3 separate regions of the Homo sapiens genome follow, and regions 1 and 2 are each linked to region 3. Evidence: promoter capture Hi-C in 16 types of primary human blood cells and fetal thymus (Javierre and others, 2016). All regions are on one chromosome and are shown on one strand. Each heading gives the region's core, a stretch centred on a gene start or on the middle of the fragment in contact. The rest is flanking DNA. Distances are from core to core; before and after follow the strand shown.

Region 1 (4,300 bases), core at 1,252-3,751, 420 kb before region 3:
TAACATTCCAAAGGAATATACCCATGCTAGTGGGAGTCATTTACATTTAAATGTATATACCAATGTATCCATACCTCAGTCAAGATACAGAACATTTCCATCACCCTAGAAAGTTCTCTCCTTGCCTTTTTTTTTTTTTTTCCAATTTGTTGTTGTTGTTCTGAGACAGCGTCTCACTCTGTCACCCAGGCTGGAGTGCAGTAGTGTGATCTTGGCTCACTGCTCCCTTGACCTCCTGGCCTCAAGTGATCTTCCAGTGCTCAAGTGATCCTCCCACCTCATCCCCCCAAGTAGCTGGGACTACAGACACGTGCCACCATGGCTGGTTAATTTTTCGTATTTTTTTTTTTTGTACAGACTGGATTTTACCACGCACAGGCGGGTCTCGAACTCCTGAGCTCAAGCGATCCACCTGCCTCGGCATCCCAAAGTGCTGGGATTACGGGCCTGAGCCACCGTGCCTGGCTCCTCCTTGCCTTTTCCAGTTAATCTTCTTCCCTCTAGAAAAGCAACCACTGTCCTGATTATCTATCCCCATATTATCATATTAATTTTAATTTTTTATATTACAAATTTCATCACTACCATGCTAGTCATAACACTGCTATAAGTCATTAGAAGCTGTTAATGTATTTTCATCGTTCAAATTTCACCTACTTCTCTGGATCCCAGATTAATTGATTTTTTTAAGGTCACATTTGCGTGTTAATCTGCAGGTCTAGCTCATAATCTCTTTGATGAATAGAAGGTATACTAACACAATGTCATACATGATTAGGTAATGTAAGTAACCTGGTCTTTCAGAATACTATTGAATGATACTAAGCTACTTTAAAATTAATTCCTAAAATCCCAACCCTTATATTTCCATGGTGAGTAACATGCATCATCTCAGGGGAGAGTGGCATTTTCAGTTTACAGATGAGAATATGATTCAACAACTAGCTGACTTATACAAAAATCCCCTTTCCATAATCGGTGGTGCCAGAACTAGATTTTTATTATTTTGCTCATTCCACTATCCTAGGCTGCATGTACGCAAGGAAAGAGGCAACTTGTATTCCAAAAATTCAAATTCCTTGTCTCTTCTCTGAAAATTCATAGGTTACCCACTCTTTCCATCCTCCAGCATAGTGTTGAGCACTGTGAAAGCCCTGCGATATTGCAGTGCCCAGAGCCTTCTTGCTTCTCACTCCAGCTGAAAAAGAAAACACCAAGTTGCCAGATTTGGATGGCTTTACTTCATTGTATTTCTCTTTGAAGTCTCTTGGGTTTATCTGTAGAGCTTCACCTACCTCATCCAATGGTATATTGATAGACCCAGGGATTTTTCCATACTCCAGAATTTCCCGTGTCTTTCTAACATCAATTAATATGATATTTTTAGAATTCAATAGGTTTTTTAAGTTCCTTATAAGTGACATCTTTAGAAATAGCAGTATAAAAATTGTGGCAGTTTCCGTTTATTGACCTCAAACTGCAGAGTGCAGCTTCCAGAGTCCAGAGGACAGCCCTGCACATGGTCCCAAGCAGCAGCCAGGACACCACCATGCCCTGCTAATTTTTTATATTTTTGGTAGAGATGGGGTTTTGCCATGTTGGCCAGGCTGGTCTTGAACTCCTGACCGCAGGTGATCTGCCTGCCTCGGCCTCCCAAAGTGCTGGGATTACAGGCGTGAGCCACCTAGTCCAGCTGAGATTCTTAAGGATAGATTTGTAATGCAAAGTGTGGTGTTCCTTTCCAAGTGAAGTCACTAATCTCAGATGACACAACAGAAGTAAGAGCTGCTTTATTAATGCAAGACCTCCTCTTAAGACCTCATCTTAGGACTTTGTGTAATGCAAATAATTTATCACAGAAGTTTTTATTTTTTTAAATTTTAAAAATAAGTTATAATTATGATATCTGCAGAATATATTTGGAAGAATAGCAATACACAAAGAGGCACAATTATAAAATTAGCGAAAATATGATACAAAAAGGTAATTCTAATTTTCAGTGAAAGGTGATCTAAAATCTTTTTTGAAATACTTTCCTAATCAGTTTCCATCCTGCGCTAGTTTTGAACTCACATAGCTATGAGACTGATTGATCTTTCTAAAACCCCAAACAGATCTGTCTCTCTTCAAATGAAAATCATTTGATGCTTGCCTATTGTTTTCAGAATAAGGTTCAACCTCCTTAACATAGTTCATAAGGCCCTCCCTGTCCAAGGGGATCCAGTTGGTGAGTCATTTGCTTGCTCCCCAAAAGTTCAGTGAGAATTTCTTGTCACATATACATCAACAAAACAACACAAAATGAAACCAAAGCTTCTCCTCCCAGGTTCCCTGTCTCAGTAAGTAGATACTAAGCCTGAAACCTAGAAATTGATCTGGATTGCCCCTTTGTCCTCTCCCTTCTCCCTACCCTGACAATCCTATCTAAATATTTCTTGAACACACCCTTTCTCCTCCCTTTCCCTAGACCCAGCTACTTGCTGAGAGTCTGCGTTTCAGCCAGTCATCTCCTAAACTGCAATCTGATCATGAATGTCCCTATTTGCTCCCTATCTAGCCCTCTTTGCGGATGGAGTCTGAATTCTTTAACTTGCTTTCCAAGACCAGCATTTATTTAGTGAGTACTGTTTGCCAGGCACTTGTTCTAGGCACTGAAAATTAGGCAGTGATCAAGACTAACAAAAGCTTCTGACCTCAGAATCTTACATTTTATTTGGGGTGGTGTGGTCTTGGGGCTGGATAATAAGAAAGCAAATAAAGAAAGTAATTAGAGATTATGATAAGGGCCTTGAAAGGAGTAGCCAGCCATCGACCTGTGTGCATTTGCATGTCTGTGTGTGAGGGCACTTTAAACAGAGTGGCCAGAGAAGGCCTTTCAGAAGGACAAGGTGGGGTTTGTTCTCTGACGTTTGCCCCGTGACCCCTCACACACCCCTCAGCCTCCACCCTAGCTGTCCTCCTAACACTGCCCTCAGCCAGACTGGACTTTCAGGTGCTTGTGTTCACCTCTCTTATCAGGGGACCTGCCCCGATAATCACGTAGGTTCTTTTCTATTTTCCTAAGTGTCGACTGGCTTGAGAAATAAAAGGACAGAGTACAAAAGAGAGAAATTTTAAAGCTGAGCGTCCAGGGGAGACATCACACATTGGTAGGATCCGTGATGCCCCACAAGCCACAAAAACCAGCAAGTTTTTATTAGGGAGTTTCAAAAGGGGAGGGAGTATACGAATAGGTGTGGGTGACAGACATCAAGTACTTAACAGGGTAATAGAATATCACAAGGCAAGTGGAGGCAGGGCGAGATCACAGGACCACAGGACCGAAGCGAAATTAAAATTGCTAATGAAGTTTTGGGCACCACTGTCATTGATAACATCTTATCAGGAGACAGGGTTTTGAGATCAACCGGTCTGACCAAAATTTATTAGGTGGGAATTTCCTCTTCCTAATAAGCCTGGGAGCACTATGGGAGACTGGAGTTTATTTCACCTCTGCAATCTCGACCATAAGAGACAGGTACGCCCCGGGGGGGCCAGTTCAGAGACCTACTCCTAGGTGCGCATTCTCTTTCTCAGGGACGTTCCATGCTGAGAAAAGGAATTCATCGATATTTCTCCCATTTGCTTTTGAAAGAAGAGAAATATGGCTCTGTTCCGCCCGGCTCACTGGCGGTCAGAGTTTAAGGTTATCTCTCTTATTCCCTGAACAATTGCTCTTATCCTGTTCTTTTTTCAAGGTGCCCACATTTCATATTGCTCAAACACACATGCTGTACAATTTGTGTAGTTAACGCAATTATTACAGGGTCCTGAGACGATATACATCCTTCTCGGCTGACAGGATTAAGAGATTAAAGCAAAGACAGGCATAGGAAATCACAAGGATATTGATTGGGGAAGTGATAAGTGTCCATGAAATCTTTACAATTTATGTTTAGAGATTGCAGTAAAGACAGGCATAAGAAATTACAAAAGTATTAATTTGGGGAACTAATAAGTGTCCATAAAATCTTCATAATCCACGTTCTTCTGTCATGGCTTCAGTCGGTCCCTCCGTTTGGGGTCCTTGACTTCCTGCAACACTCTCTCCCTTCTTTCCTGTCTTCCTGTCTGCTCCATTGCTCAGGTCTTTCCAGAAGCCATTGCCTGAAACCCTCTGACTCCGCCTCCCTTGATTAGGCCCCGTGCTTCTGTTGTGTGTTTTTCAATTAATAATCAAGCAACTGTAATAACTTGATTAGCAGTCTCTCATGTTCACCATTGAATCCTCAGTACTAAATAAGATGCTTGGTATCACTTG
Region 2 (4,385 bases), core at 20-2,519, 460 kb before region 3:
TCGCCACACTGTCTTCCACAATGGTTGAACTAGTTTACACTCCCACCAACAGTGTAAAAGCATTCCTATTTCTCCACATCCTCTCCAGCACCTGTTGTTTCCTGACTTTTTAATGATTGCCATTCTAACTGGTTTGAGGTGGTATCTCATTGTGGTTTTCATTTGCATTTCTCTGATGGCCAGTGATGATGAGATGTGTCTGTTGGCTGCATAAATGTCTTCTTTTGAGAAGTGTCTGTTCATATCCTTTGCCCATTTTTTGATGGGATTGTTTGAATTTTTCTTATAAATTTGTTTAAGTTCTTTGTAGATTCTGGATATTAGCCCTTTGTCAGATGGGTCCAACCTAAGGCACATTATTCTTAAGTGCACATGGAAAATTATCCAGAATAGAACATCTTTTACAACATAAAATCATCTCAATAATTTAAAAAGAATTGAAATCATACCAAGTCTGTTTTCCAATGACAATAGAATGAAATTAGAAATCAATAAAATAAAATATTCTGGGAAACTTATACATGTGTGGAAATTAAGAGCAGTTTTACATTACCAGTTGGTCAAAGAAGAAATCAAAAGAGCAATTCAAAAATTATTTGAGATGAATGCAAATAAAAACACAAAACACCCAAATTTATGGAATCAGCAAAAAAAATAATGCTCAGAAGGAAATTTATACTTGTAAATATCTACATTTAAAAGAAGAAAAATCTTGAGTCAATAATGTAAACTATTACTGTAAAAAACCAAAACTAGGGGACATTACTGAAATACAAAGGATTATAAGAGAATACTAATAACAAGTGTATGCCAACAAATTAGATAACCTAGGTAAAATGAACAAATTCCTATAAAGACACAAACTACCAACATTGACTCAAGAAGACACAGAAAATCTAAATAGGCCTATAACAAGTAAAGAGATTGTGTTATTCATTTTTTTTAACTCACGAATTAAAGTTCAGGACCAGATGGCTTTACTGGTGAATTCCACCACATATTTAAACAAGAATTAACACCAATCCTTCCCAAGCTTTTCCCAAAAAATGGAAGAGGAGGGAATTATTCCCAATTAATTTGATGAGGTCAGATTACCATGATTTCAAAATCAGATAAGGACATCACAAAAAAGGAGACTACCTGCCAATATTACCAATTAATAGAGATGCAAAAATCCTCTACAACATACTAGCAAGCTGAATCTAGCAATATATAAAAAGAATCATATACCACAACCAAGTGAAATTTATCCCAGGAAAACAAGGTTGGCTCACCATATGAAAATCAATCAATGTAATACACTATATTAATAGAAAAAAATTGAAAGAAAACCATGATAATCTCAATAGATACCAAAAAATACTCCAACAAAATTTAACACCATTTTATGATTTTAAAAAAATTACTCAGCAAACTGGGAAAGAAGAGAATTTGCTCAATTTGATGAAGGGCACCTATGAAAAACCCACAGCTAATACACTTAAAAGTGAAAGACTTAAAGCTTTCCCCTATGATCAGGAAGAAGAGGAGGATGTTTGCTCTTACCACTTCTGTTTAGCATCATGCTAGAGGTTCTAGCCAACACAATTTGCTCTCACCACTTCTGTTCAGCATTATACTAAAGATTCTAGCCAGTCTGATTAGGTAAGAAAAGAAACAAGATGCATTCAGGTTGGAAGAGAAGGAATAAAATCAATTTAAGAGAAATAAAACCAATCTTTATTTGAAGATGACATGGTCTTACAGATTTAAAAAAAGCTCTAAAGAATTCACCAAAAACCTGAGCCAATAACTGAGTTCATTCAGCAAGTTTTCAGGATTTAAAATTGATGTACAAAAATGGGTGTATTTTTGTACAGCCAATAATGTACAACTCAAGAAGGAAATTATGAAAACAACTCCAGTTGCAATAATATCAAAAATAATAAAATACTTAGAAATAAATTTAACCAAGGAAGAGCAAGACTTACGTACACTGAAAACTAGAAAACATTGCTGAAATAAATTAAAGACCTAAATAATTAGAAAGACATCTCATGTTCATGGATTGCGATACTTAATATAGTTAAGATGACAATACTTCCCAAATTGACTTACAGATTCAATATAATCCCCATCAAAATCCCCATGCATGTACAAAAGAGGCTTTTTGCACCACAGAAGAGGAACCCCCAAATTATGAATCTGTCCGTTTCTGTAGGAGCATGATGGCTGTTTTTCCCTCCCTCTTTCTTAGAGAAAGAGAAAAATCTGTGCTCCCTAGTCATTTATAGTCTTTTGAATGTAAATAAATTCTTACAGGAAGAGAAAGGGGAAAGTTCCTACCCTGGAATGTAAATATTTGGCTCCTGAAGATATAAATTTTATTTGTCCTGTTAATGGGAACAGATGGCTTCAGATCTAACACCCTTTAACTTCTAAGGTTTGTCCTCTAAACCGGGTTTTAGTTTCCTTTGCTTGGAAAGCCTTATCTGTGCATAAAAATGAAAATATACTCTGTACAGTCCTACAGTTTGTTTGACCTGGTTCAGCAGGTCAGACACAGCCTTGGCTCACTGGGCCAGATGACGGCCATTACAAGAATGCTTCAGGATATGCAATAATTAAATAGCTTTACACCTTGATTTGTCCAGGACAGTACCAGTTTACACCTGCTGGAGCTCAATTAATGCTTATTAATTATTTTAGTGCTTTCTTTCTCTCTCAAAAGTGTCCCAGTGTGGTGAGTAGTTATGCCATCAACCAACACAACATTCTAATGGCATCTGTTTATATGCAGAAGGTTAAAGGAATGAAGGAGGGAAGGTTATGGACCCTGCACCCTGGCTAAACAATTGTCAGCTACAGTGAGTCACATTTTCAGAGACCCTGAAGTTTCATTCATACAGCCAATATTTCAAACTTGATCCCATACTTTGATTACAATTAATAAAATGAACCGCGTATAATTGCCATTTTCTATTGAATAAGTCATCTGGTAGGGAAAGTCTAAACTTCAGAAAATTATAGGATAAGGTAGACAACTTCAGCCAAAGAGAATAGCAAAGGTAATAGCATGAAATAGAGAAAAAAATGAATCAGTACTGAATCACAGGTGAAAAAAAAAGTGCCCTTGGTCCATTTCAGGGATGTAAAACAGGAGAAAAAAGAAGGAAATTGTCCCTGAAGTGTTTGACATTTGGGAAAGCCCAAAAGCCAGTGGATGCTGACTCTGATTTGTGCTTTTCCTCAGGAAACACTTTGATATTAATGATGTGTCTGAGATAATATTAGATTCTTTGTATTATCTGAGTTAAGCTCTGCTACTGTTGCATCTGAAGGAGGAACAAACCTTTTGCTGTTCAGCAGCAGAATGGTGAGACATTGAGGAGCTTATCCCAGAGGCTTTTTTAATCCATAGATTTCCTTCATAAACCCATGAAAGGGCTTATTTGTGGCAACATCTTTCTGAGGGTCTCATCAATCTCATTTGCCTCTTAGTTTCTCAAGCGGTTTACCTAGACTTTTACTGTAGATTGATCACATTTAGTTGTCTATTTATAATATCTATCTTATCACCTTACAGAGCAGGAGGTGAATGAGCACAGTTTGTTAAAATGAAATGGAAGTAGTAAAATAATTTTTGTGCCTTTATTTCCAGAGAGCTAGAATAATCTCCCTAGGCTTTTAATTTAGAAATACCTACCCCACCACCTGACTCCCTTAGCAATCAATCCATGGCTAGAAGATGGTGGCCTGCATGTGGCAGCAAGGGGAGAGCTGGAGAAGAGCTATAAAGAAAGGGAGTGCCCAGCTGTTAACTCCCTGCTCCTTGACGTTAGGCATTTCTTTAGACATCCTTTGTGCAATAATAGGACAATGGAGAACTCTGAGTCCTCATTTTAGATTCTCCATTCACTGTCTTTGTCTTTGATTCAACTGTACATCTGAATGAAGTCTAGGGATGCCAGGTGGTATGCCCCAACAGAAAGCCATCCAACCTTTTCAATATCAAAAAGATGCAAAATAAGTCATAAAGTTGCTCCATGGAGGGAAGCTGCTCAATCAGGATTCCTGGTGGTGAACTGCTGAGAGAGCCGAAAGGAAATTTATTTGCATTATTTGTTATAATAAGGAACCTCCTCTACCAATACACCATTTGGCGTCTTCATTCTGTAGACAGATTTTTTGGATGTGGTTATTGAAAATGGTTGCCACAAGCTCCAGGCTGACCTGTTTCCAACAGGGAGAGAACTGCCTTCTCTCTGTCCACATGTCAATGTCAAAACAGTTCTAATTATTATTGTCCTATGGTCCTATTCTTGGACCAATTATGGTGTTTACAATGATGAAATGGTATAACTTAGTGGTTATGAGCAGAAACTCTGAAGCGAGACTACTTAGAT
Region 3 (4,234 bases), core at 1,331-3,830:
TCAGGATATCAAACTCCATACAGATATAATCCTAATTTTGTGAAAAGTGATACATGTATTTATGTAGTCCTGTTGTTGAACAAGATATTTAAAATAGCTGCCTCATGGTAGCAGAAGAACCATAGATGATTTTTATTATTTATAGTGTTTGGTATATTTCCCAAATCAAAAAAATGGCTATAAGACTTTAAAATTTATCTTTAAAACTTATCTATATCTTATCTATAAGACTTTAAAATTTATCTTGTAAAAACAAGAGCTCATTAGACATGTGTTTACTTTAATTTTATTTTTAAAGAGAATATTTTCTATCAGTGGCTCCTCATGGTAGGAATTTCACCTCCTGAATTTTCCCGGGAGGAGGATCTCATCTAGAGTAAGATCAAGGCCGAAAGAGAGGGTTTTTTTGTTTCTCACCACATTAGTTTCTTTTCACACTATTCTGCCAATCACTGGGAAAGAATGATAATCCAGACAAATGGTATCCCAGTTCTGATCATATTAGTAGATCTGGAATCTCAACGACTGCTATTAACTTTGTTATGCAGCCAAGCTGATCTGTGATATTCACTTGGTCAAACAAAATTTTTCATATCTGAGTTGGACACACAAACCTCCATGTATAGGCATAAACCTCAGATATGCATATAACTGCAAAATCTTTTCAATTTAATTAGACAGTAAACATTCTTCTCAGATTACATTTGTTTTCAAAATAACTTTTAGAACTGTTTGATTCGTTTTTCTATTGCTTCATGTCTTTTACATTTTAACTTGAGCTACAGTAAAACAACGTGGGGGAGTACTGGGATACTGTCAGCAATCTGCATTTGCCCTGGTGTTTTCCACACCCTGCATTCCATGTCTATTCTTAGCACTGTCCTTGGGCTGCTTGTCAGCTCACATTCAGTGCGGGGTAAAAGGCAGGCAGCCACTGCCTCTGAAGAAATACTTAATGTATACAGAATGAGATAGCAAACCTTTGGAATGTCCCAGAGCAGCTGTTGAAGGCACTAGTCCTTAACCTCTACCAATGTCTCCACCTTGAGCCAAGGCAGTAGTTTGGGAGAATATAATAAGCACCAATCATCAGATGTGCTGTGTAAACTCAGACACGCAGTGTAAGCTCAGGTGTTGAACTTCCATTGGCTGCCAGGCTATTTAAAGCTAAGGATTATGCAGAGATAGCAGATGTGTTACATTTTGCCATCTAAGTTTATGGAGCATCTAAAAAGCACAGATTAAAACTCACTGAATTCAGCAATCAAACTTTTAAAAGTGGTGTCCTTAAGCTTCATATTAATTTACAAGAGGATATGTAAATACATATCTCATGAACATTTTGTACGTGTCCATAGAACTTATACTATCTTTAAAAAGTCAAAACACTTCAGATAGGATTCAGTATATCTTTAAAAAGATGAATGAGGTACATATTTGAACTTTTTAAAAATAAGATTTATATCTGAAAATTCCCATTGACCTTTAAGGCAGTAACAACTATACTAAATCATAAATAGATATCAGACCCAATTTCCAAATACTGTATTTTAATTTTTGCACTCCATATTTATAAAACCTCATTTTAATTAAAATACATTAAAAAGAAAAGCTTATCGAGTGAAGGGAATCACAACTCTTTTTGGCAAAATAAAAGATTTTCATAAAATGGATAGGAATTCCTTAAATGGGTATAGCTCTTTTGCCATCAGTGATTACAAATGCAGCTGGCATTGTTGGAATAATAAGAAACAATTCGGAGTCCTCTCTAATATCCAAATACAGCCTTCTGTATTTTCAATGTTTCAGTTGTAAGAATAGTATCAGTTTGAGCCACACAAACATATTTACAAATTTTCCTTTCTGAGTAAGAATAATAAAGACAACCTCAACATACCAGGAACTGTGTATATATTTTTAATCTTCATAAAAATCATAGCAAATCATTTCAAATGTGGGTAATACAAACATTCTCGTAGTACCAGTGGCTGAACCATCATCTTCCCCATGTCATCTGAACAGGAACCGATACGATGTCACTTAGTCCCAACTGGATCCTTTACTTCCACCACCAAAATTCCATCATGACAGAGGACTGCAGACAAATCTTTGATTTCCACACCATCTGGTAGTTTGTACTGTCGGGTGAAGCTTCTTGAGATAAAACCGTGCTCATCCATTCTGGTTCCGTGTTGTGCTTTTATCAGCAGCCAGCCTTCGAAGGTCTGAATGATGATGTCTTCAGGGAGGAACTGGACCACGTCCAGCAGGATCTGAAAGTGGGATTTGCCTTCTCGGGGTGGCGTCTCTGCCGCTGAGTCCACTGGAGGAGACTGCGCTGCCCTGGTTTTCCTCAGGTCCACGATGGTTGGCCCAGGCAGTGCATATAAAGCATGATCCAGCCTGCAGTCTTCTAGACCTCGAGCTTCAAACTCTTCCTGGTAACGCACTGGAATCTCTATGAGGTGCCTCAAAATGATTTTTGCCATAGTGAAGGCAAAAACAGCCTTGAACAGCCTCCTTCTGCCAACCTTCCACTGCCTTCAGTCAGTGGCGAGCCCCTGCAGTTGCCTACTGACTGGATTACCAGTTGAAGCAGCTAGTGGTTTATAGCCGTGCCCAGACGCAATCACTTAATTAGGCCTGAATCATAGCACGGAATGCTCTCTTGTCTTTTCACACATGCTGACAATGAACGGCTATTTATAGGGCATGTTTCCCAGTGCATTTAGCACACAGCCTGCACAAGCTGCCCAGTCATGGATTGCCCTTACATTCTCAGTTATCCTTGGCAAATGTGTCTGCCTTGCTTACTTCAAGAAAGAGAGTGGGAATCGAAAATGGTATTTGAAAAATATCTGGGTGAGGCCAGGTGCGGTGGCTCATGCCTGTAATCCCAGCACTTCGGGAGGCTGAGGCGGGTGGATCGCCTGAGGTCAGGAGTTCAAGCCCAGCCTGAACAATGTGGTGAAACCCTGTCTGTACTAAAAACACAAAAATTAGCTGGGCATGGTGGCTTATGTCTGAAATCTTAGCTACTTGGGAGGTTGAGGTAGGAGAATCGCTTGAACCAGGAGGCAAAGGTTTCAGCGAGCCAAGACCATACCGTTGCACTCTAGCCTGGGCAATAGAGTGAGACTCCATCTCAACAAACAAACAAACAAACAAAAACCAAAAATATCTGGGTGGGTGCTTTCTCCCTGTGAACTTCAGTAATCTAAGGGAATAGGACTTCTTAGAACAGTCAGAGATGTTCACTCATAATATGAACTGGGATCACATTTTCCCTCGTCTCCAGATACAAAGCTGGGGAGGGCAGAATCTAGCTGTAATTCAGAAAGAATTAATACACACATATTCAAATCTCAGCCATTCAACAAACTGCCCTGTGTCCTATGCATTTCCTTTTATTTTATCTTTTAGTCTTTTGGGCTAAAAGACACATTATCTGGGTTTATTTACATCTGACTCATCAAAATTAGATCAGATGACTAAGCTAGAGAAGTGACAAACGTCAGATGGGGGCTGCAGGGGCATAGGATGGGGAATTTTAGTGATGAAAATAGAGCCACAAAGAAGAGAAAAATGTCAAAGCTTTGAATGATTTGATATGAACCTCCAAAAATCTAAGGATTAATCTTGTCACAGCTCTGCTACTGAGTTGGCAAAAATAAATTAAATATAATTTCCCCACTATATCACCCTTTATACTAAACTTACCCTGAAAAAGAATGAGGCAACTCCTTATCCACAGCTATGGAAGAATCTCCAAGATATGTTAAATCAAAAAGAAAAGTCCAGGGCAATATATGATATGCTAGTGTTTATACTTTTTTTTTTTTTGAGACAGAGTCTTGCTCTGTCACCCAAGCTGGAGTGGGTGACAGCCTCGAAGTCCTGGAATCAAGAAATCCCTCACTCTCAGCTTCCTGAGTAGCTGGGACTATAGAACCATGCCACCATGCCCAGTTAGTTTTTTTGATTGTTTTTTTAGAGATGGGGGTCTTGTTATGTTGCCCAGGCTGGTCTCTAACTCCTGGCCTGAAGAGATCCTTCCACCTCATCCTCCCAAAGTGCTGGAATTACAGACGTGAGCCACTGCACCAGGCCTTATTTATACTTTTTTAAAAAGTATGTATTTGCTTATATTAATAAAATCTCTCTGAAAGCTTTGTAGCTGAAGACAGTGGGTGCCTCCTGAGAGTGATTGGCAGGTGGGGGCTGGAAGGAGACC

Evidence for each region. The method cuts DNA at HindIII sites, captures the fragments that hold promoters and counts their contacts. A CHiCAGO score of 5 or more calls a contact.
Region 1: a fragment that was not itself captured here is called in contact with the fragment with the promoter of HSPB3 in region 3 in 7 of 17 cell types (neutrophils, naive B cells, total B cells and 4 more); the score reaches 7.8 in neutrophils.
Region 2: a fragment that was not itself captured here is called in contact with the fragment with the promoter of HSPB3 in region 3 in 1 of 17 cell types (neutrophils); the score reaches 5.3 in neutrophils.

The regions. Positions count from the first base shown.
Region 1 is chr5:54,875,362-54,879,661 of GRCh38, reverse strand. It overlaps the pseudogene LOC100130574. Among named protein-coding and RNA genes, the nearest start is that of ESM1, 110 kb to the left of the region's middle. The HindIII fragment of the contact is 372 bases long and covers 2,316-2,687 here.
Region 2 is chr5:54,913,780-54,918,164 of GRCh38, reverse strand. No RefSeq gene overlaps it. Among named protein-coding and RNA genes, the nearest start is that of ESM1, 70 kb to the left of the region's middle. The HindIII fragment of the contact is 468 bases long and covers 1,036-1,503 here.
Region 3 is chr5:54,454,045-54,458,278 of GRCh38, reverse strand. HSPB3 (heat shock protein family B (small) member 3) reads right to left here and starts at 2,580. Exons shown (of 1, transcript NM_006308.3): 1 at 1,902-2,580. The coding sequence starts at 2,489. The coding sequence ends at 2,037. The HindIII fragment of the contact is 1,443 bases long and covers 2,154-3,596 here.